Regions from separate parts of the Homo sapiens genome. Here region 1 is linked to region 2. The links are contacts of gene promoters, found by promoter capture Hi-C in human tissues and cell types (Jung and others, 2019). All regions are on one chromosome and are shown on one strand. Each heading gives the region's core, a stretch centred on a gene start or on the middle of the fragment in contact. The rest is flanking DNA. Distances are from core to core; before and after follow the strand shown.

The links. The method cuts DNA at HindIII sites, captures the fragments that hold promoters and counts their contacts. A contact is called where the count stands out against the background at its distance.
Region 1: a contact is called between a fragment that was not itself captured here and the fragment with the promoter of ACP2 in region 2, in 6 of the 25 tissues and cell types used here (H1 embryonic stem cells, IMR-90 fibroblasts, dorsolateral prefrontal cortex and 3 more).

Annotation. Positions count from the first base shown.
Region 1 is chr11:47,398,410-47,401,216 of GRCh38, forward strand. All of the region lies in intron 2 of SLC39A13-AS1 (SLC39A13 antisense RNA 1), which reads right to left. It overlaps MIR4487 (microRNA 4487), which reads left to right and starts at 2,561; the gene lies at 2,561-2,633. RefSeq lists a silencer at 1,620-1,979 and an enhancer at 2,029-2,807. The HindIII fragment of the contact is 6,212 bases long and covers 1-2,807 here.
Region 2 is chr11:47,247,388-47,250,314 of GRCh38, forward strand. ACP2 (acid phosphatase 2, lysosomal) reads right to left here and starts at 1,427. Exons shown (of 11, transcript NM_001610.4): 1 at 1,289-1,427; 2 at 651-746; 3 at 254-340. The coding sequence starts at 1,402. It also overlaps a transcript of NR1H3 not described here. RefSeq lists enhancers at 893-982, 1,113-1,622 and a silencer at 1,703-1,870. The HindIII fragment of the contact is 13,067 bases long and covers 1-2,927 here.

The sequences.
Region 1 (2,807 bases), core at 92-2,591, 150 kb after region 2:
GGGAAATGTGTTTCTAACAGCCATGGGCCCAGCCCTCCTTCAGGCACCGGCTCTGTCCAGTAGGTACGATTATTACTCCCATTTTACATACGAGGAAACCCAGGGAAAAGAGATGTCCCAAGGTCACACAGCCTTGCAGGGGCTTGAACCCCAATCCTGTCTAACTCCAAGTCCCATGCACTTACATATACCTGAGAGCCCCTCCTTCCTTTTCTCCTAGGAGTTCTTCTGTACCTTCCTAGCTTGCAGGGTTGGGGCCCTGGGTGGCAAGTTGAACCATGACTGGATGGGACTGGAGGGCTTGGCCCTGCCTGGCTGAGGCTGCAGTCTGCAAATACCTGACTGCCCTTGCTCTTGGTTGGGCTGAGGGACTGCTGCCTGGGCATGCAAGGGGTTGGGGACCAGCTGCAGCGGCACCTCCCTGACATATTGCCTTGGGCCACCCTGCCCTCTAAGCTTGTTGGTGTCTGACTTTCTTGGGAGAGGGGTATAACCCCTTCCAGGGGGCCTGCATGGTGGGGCTGAGACACTAAGAAAGCTGCATTTGAGCTTCCTCACTGGCTCAGCTCCTTCTGAGGCCCTGGAAGGGGTCTCAGCAATTTTGTTTTTGTTTTTTATTTTTTTGGTTTTTTTTTTGATGAAGTCTCACTCTATTGCCCAGGCTGGAATGCAGTGACACAATCTCGGCTCACTGCAACCTCTGCCTCCCGGGTTCAAGTAATTTTGCTGCCTCAGCCTCCCGAGTAGCTGGGACTACAGGAGAGCGCCACCACGCCTGGCTAATTATTTTATTTTATGTTTTGTATTTTTAGTAGAGACAGGATTTCACCACGTTGGCCAGGCTGGTCTCGAACTCCTGACCTCAGGTGATCCACCCACCTTGGCCTCCCAAAGTGTTGAGATTACAGGTGTGAGCCACCGCGAACGGCTGTTTTGTTTTGTTTTGTTTTGTTTTTGTTTTTTGTTTTGAGACAGAGTTTAGCTCTGTCACCCAGACTGGAGTGCAGTGGTGCGATCATCTCAGCTCACTGCAACCTCTGCCTCCCGGGTTCAACGATTCTCCTGCCTCAGTCTCCCGAGTAGCTGGGATTACAGGCGCCCACCATCACGTCCAGCTAATTTGTGTATTTTAGTAGAGACAGGGTTTCACCATGTTGGCCAGGCTGGTCTGGAACTCCTGACGTCAAGTGATCCGCCCACCTTGGCTTCCCAAGGTGCTGGGATTACAGGTGTGAGCCACTGCGCCCAGCCTCTCAGCAATTTTGTATTTGTGACTTTGTAATCTTTTCCTTAAAGAGTGCCCCCCCAAATGGTTTTAAGCTTCAGGCTCCTGGGAACCTAGATCTGTCCCCAGGGTGGGGCGGTGGAAAGCGTTCCAACCCCCTCCCACTTGCTTTTTGCATGCTGGCTCTGGGGCTTTGGGTGAAACTCCCCACTTTGCCATCTATACAATGGGGATGAATGAGGCGATGCGATGCTTAGAGGACCCTCTGTTCAAAACTCGCCCAACCCACAGAGACCTTCACAAGCCTGCACTTGGTCCATCACCAACAGCCCTGTGGGGAAAACCGAGCTCCTACCCCCATTTTCCAGCTGAGATAACTGAGGCGTGAAGCCCCGCTGCCGCTCGTCGCTGAGGCTGTGAGCAGGCTGGAGCCTCATCCCCCACTGCTCCCTGGGGTCTCCTCCCGGGATGCCAAGCCTGGGTAGCAGGAGGGGGTCTCCAGGGTGCGGGGGCGCTCTGGGGAGGCCGGGGGCGGAGGCGGTGTCCCGCACTGTCCCACCGCAGGGCCGACCTCGGCCCTTATCTGCTCCGGCAGCTTCCGCCCCCCAACTCCAGCCCCCGCCGCAGGCCCGGCCCCCGGCCCCGCCCCCCTAGGGCCCCTCCCCCGCGCCGCCCGCCCCCAGGGGAGCGCCCGAGCTGCCCGGCTGCGGCCCAGTCGAGCGGAGAGGGGGCCCAGCCCCCCCAGGTGGGCAGCCGGAAGTGATAAATAACCGAGACGGGGGGGGGGGGACACCATTGCAGTGAGGCCCGAGTTGTCCCGGGATACTCGCCCACAACCCAATAGGAGCTCCCCAAACTAAGTTGTCTTCGCCAAAAATGGGAGGGGGTCTGAGAAGGAAGAGGAAAGGGGTTCCTTAAGGCCCCAGGGACAAGAGGAACAGTGGAGTCAGTTTAAACAGGGCTCTGAGAGGCACACGACCTCCCCCCACACTAACAATGCCAAGTGGCCTCCCTGGGACAGGTGTGGGGGGGGGAGAGAGAAGCGGAGACACCTCAGAGAAAGTGAAAAGGAAGTCACAACTGGAGATGCCTGCGGAGTGCAGCGGGGCATAGCCTCAAAAATACATAAGGAACTCTTGCAAATCAAGGAAAAGAAAATCAAGCAATCCAATATAAAAAAATAGATAACACACACGCAGCGCAGGCATGTTAGGGCAGAGAAAACGAATTTGCTCAAATACCATCTAAGGGAGGCTCAGCCTCACTGCTGATGAGGGCGATGCAAATTCAGACCACAATGAGATGCTATTTACACCATCTGAAGGGCAGAAGGGAACTGTCCTTCAGCCAGAGCTGGCTGAAGGGCAGAAGGGAACTGTCCTTCAGCCAGAGCTGGCTGAAGGGCAGAAGGGAACTGTCCTTCAGCCAGAGCTGGCAAGGAGGGGAGCAGCAGGCCCTCCTGCATGTGGCTAGTCAGGATGCGGCTCCAAATAGCCCCCTAGGGAGAGCAATCTGGCCTTATCTCACGAAGTGGAGGTACAGAGGCTGTCACCCACACATCCCCCCAGGCAGCAAATCAAGA
Region 2 (2,927 bases), core at 177-2,676:
GAAACCACTTTGCCAGGCCCGCCCTTAAGTCCGAATTTGGATGCTTAATCAAATTTGCCTCATCCCAGCCAAGCAGGGGCAACTCAGCTCCTAGGGCTTTGTTCCAGACAGCTCTCAGATGTCTTTTCCTGTAGTTGTGACCAAAAATACAAGAAGGAGGCCAAAGTGCCCAGCCTCAGCCTTAGGCTCCCTGAGGGCAAAAGATGAGGGCAGCATACCTTGTTCCCCTTGCCTCTGGAGCTCCCAACCTTACCTCTTGCCGGTGATAAGAGGTGTTTAGGAAGCCGTGATAGCGCTGCCGCAGGGCCTGGCCCAGTTCCCAGTGCTGTAGCATCCCCTCCTGTGGGCAAACCCAAGGGTTAAGAGGGTCTAGAGGGAAGGGGTGGCTTCAAGCCCCATGGGGTTTAGGCCCTGTTGCTTTCCAGGTTCACGCTTTGCTGGAGTCAATTAATCTGATCCCAGAAGTCTTTCATTAAGTGGCCAGTCATGCACAGCAATATCATGGGCACAGAGATTAAGGTTATGAAATCTGGTCAAAGTCAGCACCCATATGGGAAAAGGCAGTTTAGTAGGACCCCAAGTTTTGTAGACTGCTCTAGACGTCGCTCATTCTGCAGCTCATCCTGAGGAAAGGCTGGCTTCTGACCCACCTTGGTTAACTGACCAAACCCCTGGGGCCATTCTTCTTCCTGATAGGGGTCCTTGGGATATGTCTTCACTGGTGAACGGTCTCCATGGCGGTACAGCTGAGAGAATAAAATGGTTTGCCTATAGGTCAGAAGCATCCCCTTGATAGGGACCCAGAGCCTACCTTTTGCCCCATGTTAGGGAAGGAAGTCTCATTCCCTCTGGGAAGCCTACTGGCTGCAAAAGACCCCAGCTAGGAGTCAGTCACTTCTTCCAGATTCCAGAGATTCTAACTTAGCTAAGCAATGCTACTGGAGACCATAGGCAAAGCCAAGGTACAGGTAGGAAGGGAAAAGAGAAGTGAAAGCAACGTATGTGGTGGGGACAACTGGGGAAAAAAGATAACCAAAGGCTTCTTTAGGGATGAGTCTTAACCATTCAACCACTTCCCTGTCTCAAGGCAGACTCACCCCGACGTATTCGGTCATCCTGACTCCCATAAGCCAGGGCTCCAGGTCAATCCTGAATCCAGCCTCCCAACTACCCAGGCCAGTCGTCCCCTCCTAAACCAGCTGTTCCTTCCCGAGATCCTCGACCTCCACCAGCTGGCCTTTGCCCTTTTAGCTTCAGGGAAGTCTTTGGTGAGCCCATCTCTCATTACCAAGGTAACGAAGCGCAGACTCCGGGCCCGGGTGGGCGGCATCACCACCAGGTTCACGCCGAGAAGGAGCTGGAGGAGAGCCGCCCGGCTCCAGCCGGACCGCTTGCCCGCCATCACCGTTGTAATCTATGCAGCAAACAAGCTGGAACCCGCTGGGTGGCACCTGCAAGCAGCCGCCCGGACGCACCCGTAAGGACACACGCCGGAAGTGCGTTCGCCGCCATCTTACTTAGGGACCTGCTGGGGTGCGGGGAAAAGGCGCAGTCTCGGTGGGATTGCGTGCAGGAGGGTCGTGGTCTGGCTGTGGCGGAGGAGCATAAGAAGGTAACGCGACCTGGCGCGGCAGACAGGGCTCGAAGACCTCATCTTGATTAAGAAGGCCACAAATTCGCGTTTGCCTCTGCTCGGAGAAATCCCTTACCAAGGTGGCACTTGCAGTGGGCGGGACCATGTCTGGAGAACCAGCGTCCCCTCCAGGCTTGACCCCATAGCTAGATCGGGTGCAGAATTGAGGCGAGGGATGGGAAAGTAGAGGTCGCTTCTCTCCACGCCCCTGCCTTTGTGGGGAGATTGAGCCCTGGCCCTGTTCTCCAGGAGATGTTTTGCTTGGGGTGCAGGACACAGTATGTAAACAACCCTTTGGACTCCGTGTGTCCTTGAGGTTGCCCCAGTCTGGCCTACCGTTCCTGCCCTGCACAAAGCTTCAGTAGCCCTCTCACTTTCCCTTCCAGTCCTTTCCCTGTCCTCCCTCCCCTCCACTTCCAAGTTTTAGTTAATTAGAGTCAAGACGTCATGTCATGCCTCTTCCCAAAGGAGTTGGGTTGCACAGGATGTTCAGACTTTACAAACCCAAAGCACTGAATCCCTGGGGGAGGAATTTCAGACCAGTGGGGAGGTATTTTGAGGTAAGGGACAGGCGCATATCATAAAGTGGGAGTAGGTGGGGTTTCCACAGAATCAATGGCCCTCTTGGCATTGACCATTAGGATTCAGGTGCAGCCAGTTTGGCCTCAGGACTTTGTGACTCCTGTGACGGTTGCAGGTCAGATCATAGGTCCTGGGGATGCTTTGATTCAGATCTGCCTACTGGAAGCAAATCTCCTCAGATCTTTGGGAAACAAAACTGATCAGGCTTGGCCTGGGCGCCGTGGCTCACCTGTAATACCAGCACTTTGAGAGGCCGAAGCAGGCAGATCACCTGAGGTCAGGAGTTCGAGACCAGCCTGGCCAACGTGGCGAAACCCCGTCTCTACTAAAAATACAAAAAAAAAAAAATTAGCCGGGTGCAGTGGCGTGCTCCTGTAATCCCAGCTACTCTGGAGGCTGAGGCAGGAGAATCGCTTGAACTCGGAAAGCGGAGGTTGCAGTGAGCTGAGATCACGCCACTGCACTCCAGCCTGCGCGACAGAGTGAGACTGTCTCAAAACAACAACAACAAAAACCTGATTAGGCTTGGTGTGGTGGCTCACGTTTCTAATCCCAGCACTTTGGGAGGCCAGGGTGGGAAGATTGCTTGAGCCCAGGAGTTGGAGACCAGCCTGAGCAGCTTAGGAAGATCTCCTCTCTACAAAAAAAAGTTTAAAAATTAGCTGGGTGTGGTGGCACACACCTGTGGTCCTAGCTCCTCGGGAGGCTGAGG